5 separate regions of the Homo sapiens genome follow, and regions 1, 2, 3 and 5 are each linked to region 4. The links are contacts of gene promoters, found by promoter capture Hi-C in blood cells and fetal thymus (Javierre and others, 2016). All regions are on one chromosome and are shown on one strand. Each heading gives the region's core, a stretch centred on a gene start or on the middle of the fragment in contact. The rest is flanking DNA. Distances are from core to core; before and after follow the strand shown.

What was found. Contacts are between HindIII fragments. The CHiCAGO score rates a contact against its expected background, and 5 or more counts as called.
Region 1: a contact is called between a fragment that was not itself captured here and the fragment with the promoter of PRTFDC1 in region 4, in 13 of 17 cell types (non-activated CD4 T cells, total CD4 T cells, naive CD4 T cells and 10 more). The highest score is 14.2, in non-activated CD4 T cells.
Region 2: a contact is called between a fragment that was not itself captured here and the fragment with the promoter of PRTFDC1 in region 4, in 1 of 17 cell types (total CD4 T cells). The highest score is 5.2, in total CD4 T cells.
Region 3: a fragment that was not itself captured here is called in contact with the fragment with the promoter of PRTFDC1 in region 4 in 12 of 17 cell types (non-activated CD4 T cells, total CD4 T cells, naive CD8 T cells and 9 more); the score reaches 10.4 in non-activated CD4 T cells.
Region 5: a fragment that was not itself captured here is called in contact with the fragment with the promoter of PRTFDC1 in region 4 in 2 of 17 cell types (total CD4 T cells and naive CD8 T cells); the score reaches 6.3 in total CD4 T cells.

The regions. Positions count from the first base shown.
Region 1 is chr10:24,648,959-24,651,658 of GRCh38, reverse strand. The region is part of intron 4 of ARHGAP21 (Rho GTPase activating protein 21); the gene reads left to right. Among named protein-coding and RNA genes, the nearest start is that of ARHGAP21, 74 kb to the left of the region's middle. The HindIII fragment of the contact is 1,073 bases long and covers 840-1,912 here.
Region 2 is chr10:24,573,901-24,576,600 of GRCh38, reverse strand. No RefSeq gene overlaps it. Among named protein-coding and RNA genes, the nearest start is that of ARHGAP21, 150 kb to the left of the region's middle. The HindIII fragment of the contact is 9,489 bases long and covers 1-2,700 here.
Region 3 is chr10:24,688,510-24,691,209 of GRCh38, reverse strand. The region is part of intron 2 of ARHGAP21 (Rho GTPase activating protein 21); the gene reads left to right. Among named protein-coding and RNA genes, the nearest start is that of ARHGAP21, 34 kb to the left of the region's middle. The HindIII fragment of the contact is 2,275 bases long and covers 120-2,394 here.
Region 4 is chr10:24,951,333-24,954,032 of GRCh38, reverse strand. PRTFDC1 (phosphoribosyl transferase domain containing 1) reads left to right here and starts at 1,427. Exons shown (of 9, transcript NM_020200.7): 1 at 1,427-1,505. The coding sequence starts at 1,458. It also overlaps a transcript of THNSL1 not described here. RefSeq lists a silencer at 1,077-1,266. The HindIII fragment of the contact is 20,553 bases long and covers 1-2,700 here.
Region 5 is chr10:24,590,495-24,593,194 of GRCh38, reverse strand. It overlaps ARHGAP21 (Rho GTPase activating protein 21), which reads left to right. Exons shown (of 26, transcript NM_020824.4): 22 at 1,183-1,308; 23 at 1,512-1,553; 24 at 1,865-1,970. Among named protein-coding and RNA genes, the nearest start is that of ARHGAP21, 130 kb to the left of the region's middle. The HindIII fragment of the contact is 4,332 bases long and covers 1-2,700 here.

The DNA.
Region 1 (2,700 bases), core at 127-2,626, 300 kb after region 4:
CTGCATTACTGGACTAAACCAAACTTGTCCACAGTGTGTGATGCTTTTTATATATCACCAGATTTGGTTTTCTGTTTTATTTAGAATTTTTGCATCTCTGCTCAAGGATTGCCTTCACCTAAAGTCAGGCCTTGATCTGATAATTGGTGTTGAGTAGCAGACATCAAGATGGAAGCATAAACTAAACCAGGATGAGATATGCAGAAGGCTTATTGGGGGCAATGCTTGTAAAGGATAAAGAAGAAAGCAAGAGAGGACAGGGGAAAACCTGAGACCATGAGACAGGCCTGACCCCTGTGAAAGAAGAGAGGAAAGGAAAGAATTGGTAGGAAGGGCCCCAGCCTGCAGCACAGATCTAAGAATGCCTCTGCTAGGCCAGTGAAGAGTCCCCAGGCAAACACTTGTCTTTTAGAAGAATCCTGCTTTGGGCAGGAATGGGGAAATGTGGCCTCTGTGTGAACATGGTGATGGATCCAAAGGGCGGCAGCTGGGGCTGTCAGTCACAGTCTTCCCCTCGGCAAGTTCTTCAGAAGGAGGTGTGCAGAGGAACAGCCCACCTCCATGCTTGACATGGTTGGCCTTTTTCTTTTCATCCCTGCTCACAGGTTGTATTCTTTTGGGGACCCCAAGTGAAAACATGGTGTTTTCTAGAGCTCTTTTCCTTGGCTGGCCCTGAAGTTCCTTTTTTTTTTTGTCTCCTCAGCCTTTTGAGATTGATGGAAGCTCTGTGCAGCTGGTCAGTCTCTCAGCCATTACTTTGGAAACAGGAAACGCCTCAAGGTGAACAGTTGTGCAAAGCACTGGACTCACCTCTCTGGATTTCCATCTATTTGGAAGCTTGTCCCATTAAGCCATCTCTGCCTTGGTAGCTTTCTGGTGCCTTCACACAAATGTGGTTATACATCGTCTAGCTTTTCTGGCTATTATTCATGGGTGGAAGAGTTGATTCTGTAACCAGCTAGTTCACTGTAGGTAGATTTAGAAATTTTCACGTATGTATTTAATGTAATTAATTATGTATTTATTGTTTAATCTTTTATTTTGAACTTTCTCTTGGTTCATTCTTATATTTTTCTCTTTTCTGAGATTAAAAAATAATTTTTCTTTTATACTTTCTACTTGAAAGGTTAAAGAACATTATTACCCTTCTTTCAGTGGTTATCCTAGAAACAATATGCAAGCACATCGAAGTCTGATGCTACTTAAAATTCTGTTCTACTCTTACAAAATATAAGGACCTTAGAACATTTTAACTCCATTATCTCCTTCCTATCTACATGTTGCTTTTTTTGTTGTTTTTTAAAGAGATGGGGTCTCACTGTGTTACCCATGCTGATCTTGAACTCCTGGCCTCAGGCAGTCCCCCTCAGGCACTACTCAGAGCCTCAGCCTCCTGAGTAGTTGGGATTATAGGCATGAGCCACTGCGCCTGGCTCCAACATGTTACTTATATGTGATGTAATTCTCTCTCCTTTTTTCTGTGAAATATCTGTGTTCTGCCCTTATTTTTGGAAGGTATTTTTGCTGGGTACACAATTATTCAGTAATATTGAAGATATTATTTCATTCTTACTCCATCTCCCATGGCTACTAAATTCTCTAGTTTTTCTTTTTCTTCTTCTTTTTTGTCTTTCTGGTCTGCATTCTAGTTAATTTCTTCCAATATATGTTCAGTAAATTTCTTTTTAGTTAAGTTTTAAAGTTTGATTATGAGAAGTTTTTTAGGGTACTGCAGCAAATATGCTTGATCACTTCTTATAGTTTCTTCACCTGGACTACTTTTAGTTTTATCTTTTTATTTCTTCAGACATGGTAAGCGGAATTTTTTTATAATCTGTGCCTGGTGATTCCTTTATCAGAAGTTTTTGAATCTGTTTCTCTTGTTTGTTTTCTCTGGTTTGTTTTCTAAGCTTTAGCTTAGAATATTGTTGTTTTCCATGGTTTTTTTTTTTTAACTGCTTTGTGTTTTATGACCTTCAAAAATTATTACTTGGGGATTCTTTGAGATCTAAGACAAAAAATCTCTTCTCCAAGTTGATTGGTGTTTGCTTTTGTCCAGGGACAGGCTGTTACCTGAGTTAGCCTAAAAATCCATGTCCATGTGCAGTTTAGCCCATGGCCACTTCTTAGAGTTATCTTTCCCCTTCCTTTTTTTCTTTTTCCTACTTTGTTCAGCTCCAAAGTAGCCTCTGGGTTGGTGGGGGCATTATTTGTAGTTACCCTTCCTCTTAAGTGCGGGAGAGTCTCCTGATAGAGATTCCTAACTGGACTTGGGCTTTTTCTTCTATTTGCTGGGTAGAAAAGTCCTTAAAGTGGATGCTCATGTTCAGTGGCCTGGGCATATATTGTTTCACTGGTATCAATAATATTTTAGGATATAATTTTCTAGCAGCTAGGTTTTACATGTATATACACTATGGTTCAGATATAAATTACCCATCTCTCTATATTAGCCCAGTTAGCTAGTACATGGATAAGTCATTAGATAATTTGCTACCCATGTATTTGTCCTATTAAGATGTAGTTATAATAAAATTACCAAGTTATCTGTAGTTTGCTATTATGGGTAATATTTCCTCATGTAAACTGTATAAACTCACTTATATACATATATACACATGTACACATATGCATACATAAGCACACACAAAGGTAATAAAAGTGATTCTATATGTAGCTAGTAACAAGTTAATTTCAAAA
Region 2 (2,700 bases), core at 161-2,660, 380 kb after region 4:
GTTCAGAAAGTTCTCTTTAGCTGTTTTTAAAACAGCCTAGTCAGTTTTGAGATCTCTCTTGCTTGCATCACATTTTATCCCCTTTTATTTCTGTAAAATATAAAACAAATCTTATAAGAATTATAGGACCAAACTGCCTGACTTCAAATCTAGACCTTACCATTTACAAAGTGGATGTGTTTGGACAGGCTACCCAACTTACATATTAGTTTTCCTCATATGTAAAATGAGAGAAATAATAATCCTTGTCTCGGTTATTGTGTTTTCTGTTATTTTATATCTGGATCCAATAGCTATCATACCTTCAGTTTTAGCAGGTTTGATTCTTTGATATTTCTACTGACTCGTGCCTATGGTGATCTGCTTTCTCATATGGTAAAGCATGTGTTCACAGTTTATACAAATCAGGGTAGCAAACTTATTTTATCATTATCTTTGAGCCAGAAAAATAAATGTTTGTCATGGTGTACATAGTTCAGTATACCCAAATGATACTTCATCTTTTTTTTAATCTTTGAGAATACCCAACGAGTGCTTTTTAAAGACTAATGGGCAGGAGAAATCATAAACCATATTGATAAATGCACATTTACACAGTGACTTTGGAAGACAGCGTAAGATTCCTAGTAGCTCAGACTCAGGAGTCTCAGGAAGGTTTTCTTAGAGGATTCCTTATCTTAAGAATCTGAGAATAAAAGTCTATCGGTAAGTAAAACCACCAAGAGCCACCGTGAAGCCAGGTGACTTTATAATAATACACTCCCCTGTGGCTAACCTCAGATACCAAGAAATCAAAAACCGTTAACCTGCGCAATAAGCCTTGACATTTTTAGACTATACTGTGGACACCCCCCCGCCAAAAAAAAGTCTCCTTTATTTCATGTTTTGAGCAGCCAGAGAGCCTTGCATCTTTATCATTCTCTCTCCGTTTTGGCTCACGTGACTGACTTGAAAAGCCTATTAAAGTTTCCCTTAGGCCATGTTGACTTTCTTACAACATTCCACATTTTTTCCTTCTCATGAATTCTTAGAAGGAGAAATATCCAATTATTCCCTTTCCATTGGCGTGACCTCTTCTGCAAAGCTACCTGTGGCCCCACAGGATGCTTGAGCCGTGGGGTAACGAGGGGAGCTAGAGCTTTGTTGACAGACCCTCTTGGTTCCCGGGGGTTCATTATTGATTAGCAGACACTTCCCATCCCTGCCCTGAGAAAACATCATTCAAACAGATTTATCCTCAAGAAATGAGCAAAATAATCTTATGCTTGGAGATTTCTCATGGAGGGGTTGGAGAAAACAGAACAAAAACTTAAATCATGTAGTCAACCACAAAAACAGAAATGTGGCTTTTTCTTGTTTAAAGGAGTGTGGTATTACAGTTCTAGTATTGACAGCATTTTAATTGTTAGAATATAGTCATCATCCCATTCCTCCAGCCTATTTGAGCAGAAATCATGCAAACAAAAGTCATAAAACTGTAGCTTTAGCATTTCTTCCTTCCTTGGGTTTCTTACCCAGCTGAGAAGGGGCTGAAAACTGAAGCTCCACCCCTGATGTCCTTTCTTATGTAACCTTGTCCCAGAATTTGTCATGATCATGCCCTCCAGCTGCAGCTCCTGATAGCTTTTTCCAGCCTGTCCCTCACCTAATTATTTTCATCTCATGTGGTCTTACTGAACTGATTGCTTGCCTGTGGCCATAATAAGACAGTGTTCAAGGCGAACAAAAAGATATCACATAAAAATCCAGACTTTTTAAGAACTGGAAGGTCTAGCAGCGCTAGTCCCCCTACAGGGTAGTGGCAGGTTGCAGTCACCCCTTAGAGAGTGCATGTGTGCTCCCCAGTTTTCTCAGCCCCACCAGGCTGCCTCCCCTACCTGCCTGGACCCGCTGCACAACAGTACTGCAATCACTGCTGTAAACCCCAAATTACTACCCTCACTCCTGGCATGAATGAGATGTCCTTGAATTAGAAATACAACAACCCTTTGGCCTCTCCAGCCAGTGCCAATACATTCTACCCAACTGACTCTACGTCTCTACCCAATCCCAGCAATTCATCTGGGATAAGAAAGAATAGGAAAGGACAATTGAGAAGCAGTTCTCCTTTGGACATACGCATTTCCGTACTGCCAAATTCCCTGCCTCCACCACTTCGTGTATAACAGCCAGCATTCACTGAGCACATACTGTGTGCCAGGTCCTGTCCCAAGTATTTGATATGCATCAATACACAGGTCTCACAACTGTGCAGTAAACAGATTGTGACGCAGAGTCCCGGTTATTTCCCAGTACTGCTTCTTAGAGACCACACTTCTCAGCCTCCTTCACAGCTAGGTGTGGCCACGGGACTAGATGAAGTGGTTTAACGCAAACTCTAGCCACTGCGTGCACACGCAGGGGGCATGGGCTTCTATATGCTTTCCTCTTACCACAGACTGGACACAGCCCGGCTTCCACATCCCCTTGAAACACGCAGGAATCTCTAAACGAGAGCCTTGCACAGTGGATCCCAAATAGATGACACTGTGGGCCGCCTACCTCTGGGCTGCTTGGATATGAGAAATCAACTTCTCTCGTTTCAACCAGTATTACTTCGGGTTTTCTGTCATGTGCAGCTGAACCTAGCCCTGGATGATACAGAAGTATAATATCCCTGTCTTATGATGAAGAAACTCAGGCACAGAGAGATTCAGCCAT
Region 3 (2,700 bases), core at 8-2,507, 260 kb after region 4:
CTCACACTAATCAGAATGTAAGACAGCTTGATCCTCTTACCCTGAAAGGCTTGTTATCTTGTCTCTAAGGGGTCTGCTACCCCAGCTGATGACCTCTCAGTTTCTGTGTATTTTAAGCTTCCTTTCCAGTTCCCAGGGATTTTGCTTTGAGTTCTGCTACTATATTTTAAGACATTCCTGTTAACCCCAATTTGTAATTTTATATGAGAGCTGTGTTCTGAACACCAATGACACCATGTACTTTTCTAATTTAATCTTAAAGACGCTGGAGACTATATTGTATCTGCCTTTCTATGTTTTATATGTGTGTGTGTGTATGTGTGTGTTTATGTGTGTGTGTGTATATATATATGTGTATATATATATATATATTTTTTTTTTTGAGATGGAGTCTCCCTCTGTCACTCAGGCTGGAGTGCAGTGGCGCGATCTCGGCTCACTGCAACCTCCACCTCCTGGGTTCAAGCGATTCTTTTGCCTCAGCGTCCTGAGTAGCTGGAACTACAGGCACATGCTACCACACCTGCTAATTTTTGTATTTTTAGTAGAGACAGGGTTTCACCATGTTGATCAGGATGGTCTCGAACTCGCCACCTCAGGTGATGTGCCTGTCTTGGCCTCCCAAAGTGCTGGGATTACAAGAGTGAGCCACCACGCCCATCCTGTTTTTCTATGTTATTTATATTATGGGGCACTTAGAATAGCATGTTATATGCCAAGATGTCTAGCCTCACTAGTAATGAAAGAATAAAAAAATTAAAACATTAAGAACCATTTTCATCTTTAACATATTTGCAAAGATGAAAAAAATACTCAGTGTTGGCTGGAATATGGATATAGGAATCTCATGCTGTCAGTGGATTTGGTTCCCTGCTTTTCTGGATGGCACTTTAAAATATTGTGTCTAAAACTAAAAACAAACAAAAAGTAAACATTTGAGCCAGCAGCTCCATTCTTAGGAATTTATCCTAATGTAATTCTCAATGGTTTTTCATAGACACTGGTCTACAAGGCAGTTGTAGTTATAATAATAGTAGTAGTAATGTAGTGTAAAAAAGATAATGAACAAAGAGAAGAGTGAACAAATAAAATGTTATTTATGTAATGAAATACCATGTAGTCTTTAAAAATAATGATGTAGGTATATGTAATTGATATGGAAAGACTTACATAAAATATTGAATAAAAAGAAATAGGTTAGAAGATTTTCCTAAAGTATGTATTTTTTGTGTGTATGTGTATATACACACACACACACACACATATACATATATACATATACATACATATACATATATACATGTATATATACACATACATATACATATATACATGTATATATACACATACATATACATATATACATATATATACACATACATATATACATATATATACACATACATATACATATATACATATATATACACACACATATATACATACATATAGATATAATTATTTTTGAGACAAGAGACCTTGACCCTGATGTCCAGGCTGGAGTGCAGTGGCGTGATCACGGCTCACTGCAGCCTCAACCTTCCGGGCTCAGATGATCCTTCTACCTCAGCCTCCCGGGTAGCTGAGACTACAGGCACGTGCCACCATGCTGGGCTAATTTTTTGTATTTTTTGTAGAGATGGGGTTTTGCCATATTGCCCAGGCTGGTCTTGAATTCCTGGGCTCTGGCGATCCGCCCACCTTGGCCTCCCAAAGTGTTGGAATTATAGGTGTGAGCCACCACTTCCAGCCAGTGTATATTTATGTATGAAAAAGTCTGGAAGAATATGTATATGTCTCGAAGTATTGACATAATTTTCTCTAGACGGGGAATGACAGGTAAGTTAAATTATTTCCTTTTTGCTTAGATTTATTTTCTGGTGTATCCTAAGTGAACATACATTATGTTTTCATAAATATAAATTAGAAAAAAAATGATACATTAGCCAATAGCTATTATCTTCAGATTGTTAAAACAATTTGTTAGTGGTATGGTGGAAAAGTTCCAAGATCAGAAGATTGGAAACTGAGGTTCTAGTCCAAGCTGTGTCACTAATTAGCTATGAGGCCACCAGTGAGTCTTTCAGGGACTCAGTGTCTGTATTTGTAAAATAAATTGGCTCAACTAGATCTATGATTTTAAAAGTCTCTATCAGACTGTTAGTGTTTCCAAGGAATTAGTAGAGTAGGTTTCTGTACAAACGCCCTTGCCTCTCTCCCAAGCAGAGCAGCTCTGTATACAGTATTCAATATTTGTATATTGAATTTCTGTTCTAAGCTATCTTTCAGCAAAAGGTCTCAGAGATTTGGAGTGGGAGGAAGGGAAAGAAAAAGGAAACCCCATCTCTGAGATTGAGTAATTCTAGGTATATTTGATGCTACTCCCTTTAAGCTTCCATCTTTCTTCCTATTCATGGGGCATGGGTTCTTTTAGGACGGAGCTTAACTCCTGTGTCAGGATGCCCTTGCTCTCCTGGAAATAGCAGACTATGACAGTCAACCTTCACTGAGAACTAATGAGTAAATGGGTGATTCACGTCTGATATGAGACTGCCTTCACCCTAGCTGATACATAGAGACCCTATATTTTTACACATGTGAAAAACCATTTCGTCATCTTCTATAAGTTGTTTCCCCATCTAGTCTTGGCCTATTGGAGCAGTACTCTCTTACTGGTCTGTCCTGCCTTAATTTGGACCC
Region 4 (2,700 bases), core at 178-2,677:
TCTCACAATTACTAGGAGAAAATGTTTACCCGTGTGCTGAGAAACAACACCCCCCATTTCTGTAAGGCAGTTGCCAAGCAGATGCCTGATTTCAGGGATCTCTGGAGCTGCACCCTCCAAGGCGCTGGCGCTTAGAAACGACATGAAGAGCCAGCCCTGCTGAGCAGGACCAGGGCGCCAAGTCTGAATGACTAATATTTTTCCAACCTAGAACGTCATTAACCGATTGATAACTATTTCCCCTTTAAACTAGGCAAAATCAGCATTCCTCTCCCCTCTGTGTGCCAGAATTCGAAGATGAACAAAAGACGCCTGCATCAGGAAAACTGTGTTAAGTTCTCTTGGATTCAGGGCTTCGACCCGAATTGGGCTGAGTGAATGAAGACGCTGGTGAGATGTCAGGGACCTGGGGAATGAAGACACACCCAGAAAAAGCAGGAACCTACAGGAGTGGACAAAGAACCGGAGCATAGGCATGTGAGAGGGGTTGAAATGAACAACAGACTCATACAAGAAGGATTTCTAATCAGAAAAGAGCGATTGCTTTAGTAAAGCTGCAACCTGGAACAATTACAATCTGACCAGATGTTCTTGCAAAACTGGTAAAGCAGAGAATGTGTAAAAATCTCTCCCCCTCCTCCCCTGAATGCAGTTGACGAAAGGCCGAAAGGCTGGATCCTCAAAGCCCAGATCTGATCACTGCAGATCCGGGCCACCCTAAAAGCAATCGGGTGTAATCTTTCCAGCTCCAGGCCCTGGGATGAGGGAGGTGGGGGAAGGTGGAGAAAGGTGGAGGAAGATGGAGGGAGGTGAGGGGAGGTGGAGGGAGGTGAGGGGAGGTGGAGGGAGATGAGCGGAGGTGGAGAGAGGTGGGTGGCGGCTCCAAGGTTTGAAAACACATCCAGGACACTTCCCATCCTCCAAGAGCACGCTGGCTCACAGGCTCTTTCACGCTTCTGCTTGGGACAATCGCGTGCATGAAATCTGGCAGGGAGGAGTCAAGGAGATTGTTAGCCCGAGGGCTGGGACGGTGGATCTGGGAATCAGGGGCCTGGGGGACACGTTCTCTTCCTGCCGCGGGCTTCCTGCTCCAGAGTCCCCGCGGGGCTTGGCGGCGGGGCCGGGGGCTGCACGCGACCATCCGGCAGGGGGCGGCGGCGACAGCGGCGGCCGCAAGGGACGCGTCCGGGGCCCGCGCTCAGGGGGAGCGGTAGCGGCTTGGCAGCTGCTCCCCGCGCCCCCGCGGCCTAGCCAGGGGAGGGGGCGCAGCGCCGGGGCCATGGATCCGCGTCAGGCCGCTGCTTCCCGCCGGCGGGCCCGGGGCGGGGCGGACCCGTCCCCGTCCCCGTCCCCGTCCCCGTCCCCGTCCCCATCCCCACGTCCCATCCCCCACGCAGCCTTCGCCCTCCCTGCTCCTTCCCGCGCCGTCTTCCCTTCCCGCGTTCCCCGGGAGAAACATGGCCGGGAGCAGCGAGGAGGCGCCAGACTACGGGCGAGGCGTCGTGGTAAATGCAAACTCCCTATTTTGGGGCTCGGCCCGCTCCCCTCCCTCCCTGGCACCCTGCTTGTAGATTAAATGCTTGCCGTGCGTCGGGGGAGAGAGAGGGCCACCGCTTTGTTCTCCCTCCCGGCGGGGATCGCTTCCATCCTCGGACCCGGGCCTCCTCTCCCCGCCCCCAATCTGACGAAACTCTGAGTCCCGTCCCTTCACCCCGAGTTCCCAGCGTCCCCCCGTGTCCTCCGGCCGGTAGCTCGCTCCTGCAGCGTCCCGCCGGCGCCCAGCCGTCCCCATCCCCGCGAGCCACGGGGAGTCGCTTCTGCGAGCCCGGCAGGGCCCCAGAGACCCCCGCGTGCTGCTCTGGAGGCCTCCTTCTTCCTGGGTCTCCTCTTGACTCCTCCAGGGCGGGCTTCAAGTTTTGTTTTTAAAAAGCACACTGAGGGGTTTTGAAGGCAGCTAGGAAATAAAGTAGCTCAAGTGGACAGAGCTTGAGATTTGAAGCCTTTGGTACCCAGGTTGGGGGCTCTCTGGCAGTGGAGGCCTCTGCAGGAGCTCTAGGACACGCTGGCGGCTCCTGAGTGACCTATGGCTTGTCTGTAAAAGGGAGCAACAGCAAGCTGGGCTCTGGAGCCAATTGGGAGGATGCATGTAAAATATCTAGCAGTGTGTCCGGATGGGAGGGTGTGGGGTGCTGGTTTCCCAGAACTGAGCCTCATTAACCCTGAGAATCCTGACGGTGTCAGCCAGAGGGTACCCATCTCTCAGTGTGCTAGGATCCAACCCGTTCTTGACCTTGTGGCCACGTCCTCCCTGCTCCCTGAGAAGTGGTTTTCCTAGAAGGTGGTGGTTATAACTTGTGTCAGGTTCAGTGTGAAACTCAATGGTGGTGAGGATGGTGGGTGGGGCTAACTTGCCATCTCTTTCCAGGGATCAGCTTGTCATTCACAGATAATCTGTTTATGAATATGAATGGCCTGAACTAAAGTAAGTGGGCTGGGGAGGGAAACGTGTCACATTCAGACAGAAGGGTCAGGTTGAAATGTGGGGCTCAGTGCTTAATTTAACAGCAGGACCTTTCCTTCTGAAAGGATGAGGAGTTGATTTATTCATTCCACACGTTTATTGTCCTGCTGGGTTGTAGGAGGTGCTGTAGGCTCTGGGGTGCAAAAGACAAAGGCCTTGTCTTCATGAGCTTGCGTTCT
Region 5 (2,700 bases), core at 165-2,664, 360 kb after region 4:
ATGGTGTCGTTGTATGTGTGCTACACTACTAGTTAACATGTTAGGTGTGCAGCAGTTGCTTTTCTTTTTTTTCCATTTTGGCTTTTTGAGTTTGGCAGTGGTTTTTACCCCCCTGGGATGTTATTAGGGTTGATTAAAGTTATTTTAATCAAATACTGAATTCAAAATATATCAGATACTATAAGATTTAATGAAGGAAAACAAAAGATCCATACCTTTGACAATCTGATAATTATTATACAAGGAATACCAAATATGGAAATTAATGTAGCTTCAGAAGATTGGTTTCAAGTAAAAATTGGTCAGAAATAATATTTCCAGACACTGGGTGTTTACACATTAGTGATTTTGATGTACTAGAGGGAAAAATCTATAACCTTTCATGTATTTTTCAGCACTTCTTCCACTTTTCATTTCTGAAGGGGAGGGAGTTTTTTGTTTTTTTTTTCTTTTTTTCTTCAAACAGGATCTTACTCTGTCGCCCAGGCTGCAACCTCGACCTCCTCCCACCTCAGCCTCCGGAGTAGCTGGGACTGCATGCACACACCATCGTGCCTGACTAATTTATTTTTAGTAGAGATGAGGTCTTGAACTCCTGGGCTCAAGCAGTCCACCTGACTCGGTCCCCCAAAGTGCTGGGACTACAGGTGTGCCTGTAATCTTCTGCAAGTTTTTTTTTCCTTTGATTTTAACATTTTTATCAGTTAATCCAGCTTTGGTAACCCTCGTTTTGAACCAAATCAGTTGTTTTCAATCAAAGTCTTCTTGGAAAAAAATGAATGCTAATTATGCATTGCACATTATCATTAATGCAGAAAAAACGTTTTGTACACATTTGCTTTGAAAATCCTAACTAGGCCACTTGTGGTGGCTGACACTTGAGGCTGGAGAACTGCTTGAGTCCACGATTTCGAGACCTGCCTTGGCAACATAATAAGATTCTATCGAGAGTGCAGTAAGCTGTGATCATGCCACTGCACTGCAGCCTGGGTGAACGTGAGACCCTGTCTCAGAAAAAAAAAAAAAAAAAAAAAAAAATCTTGCTAGAAAGCATTATTTTTTTAATCTACATCAAAGCTATTTTTCTGTTTATTCTTTTTCATCAAAAATCCTACAATGGCAATTTCAGCCTACTTCCTTAAGAAAAATTCTGGTATTTCCCAGTATCATCCTTTCTTTCAGATGGAACCAAGAAACCTAGCAATAGTGTTTGGTCCCACCCTTGTTCGAACATCAGAAGACAACATGACCCACATGGTCACCCACATGCCTGACCAGTACAAGATTGTAGAAACGCTCATCCAGCACGTAAGTTCATGCTTCATCTCTGTAAGTTCATGCTTCATCTCTGCAAGAAAATTCATTTTCACGGGCAGCCGCTATTTGGTCAGACAGAGGTTGGTTGTAATATCTTTCCCTAAGAAAATTACCCTTTTTCTATACTATCCTCCAAGATCTCAGTATATTTAAAGGCTTGTTTAATTTCTCTTCTCACCTTTTTTAAATTTTAGCATGACTGGTTTTTCACAGAAGAAGGTGCTGAAGAGCCTCTTGTAAGTATTGTCTGTCAGCATTTGTACTCAGTAGTTTCATTTGGGACACAAGATCCTGGCGCGCCAACAATGTCAACTTCCTGCTTTGCTATTGTCCGCTTTGCGCCCCGGAAGCAGGTCTCTAGCTCAGTTTCTGATCTAATGAATATACAAGTACGGTGCTTATTTTGCAGTTAATTATGCGTAAACAATGTAAACACATTAAGCACAGGTGCTTTACTTAGTAATGTGTCTTTTACTAAATGTTGTTTAAATTTTAAAGAAAGTATCTTTGAAGAGATGATGAAGAGATCTTTGTTTATTAACCATAGACAACAGTGCAGGAGGAAAGCACAGTAGACTCCCAGCCAGTGCCAAACATAGATCATTTACTCACCAACATTGGAAGGACAGGAGTCTCCCCAGGAGATGTATCAGGTAACTCTTGCCTGGGCAGTCTTGACCTCTAGGCTGAAAGCTACATTCTTACAATATGAAAGAGCAAATCAATCATAGTGAATTGTTACTTATGATTTTTTTCTTTTTCTCTTCCTTTCTACTAATAAAAAACCTTAATCTTCCTTTTCCAATTGATCTGAATTATCTTCCAGTGACTCTAATGCCATTGGCAGTGCATGCAGTTGTAATGTTTGTCAGAATGGAACTATGAGGGAAATGAGCATGCAAACCACTGTTTTGTTCTTTTTTTTTTTTTTTTTTTTAATTCACAGTTTCCATGTAATAGTCATCACAAGGTAAAACAGATATATGCTACTGAGTATGTGGTTGCTGTGATGGCAGAAAGTATGATCTGGGCTGTATAAGTAGTTCTTATTCTTGAGCCAGGAGTTCTGTTTAAAAGCAGCAAGTTAAATCTGTTGAACTGGTAATGGGCACCATTTTCATAAATACATTTTCATAAATACAGTGTATTATTTGTCACAGTAAAAAGCCAGCCTATTTGACATTTATTTTCTTCTGTTTCCTGTTGCCACCCTAATGCTTGGTTAAGTATTAGTTCTTCTAGGCTCTTTTGATGAAAACTTTCTCCTGCCAAACTGTTGCACTAATCTAGCATGTTGTTTTACACAATGTTCTCCCTTTGTCTCTAGTTCTTGTTTTAGTCCTAAAGGGTTTTTTCAGCTCTTACTGACACAGGCAAATCTAT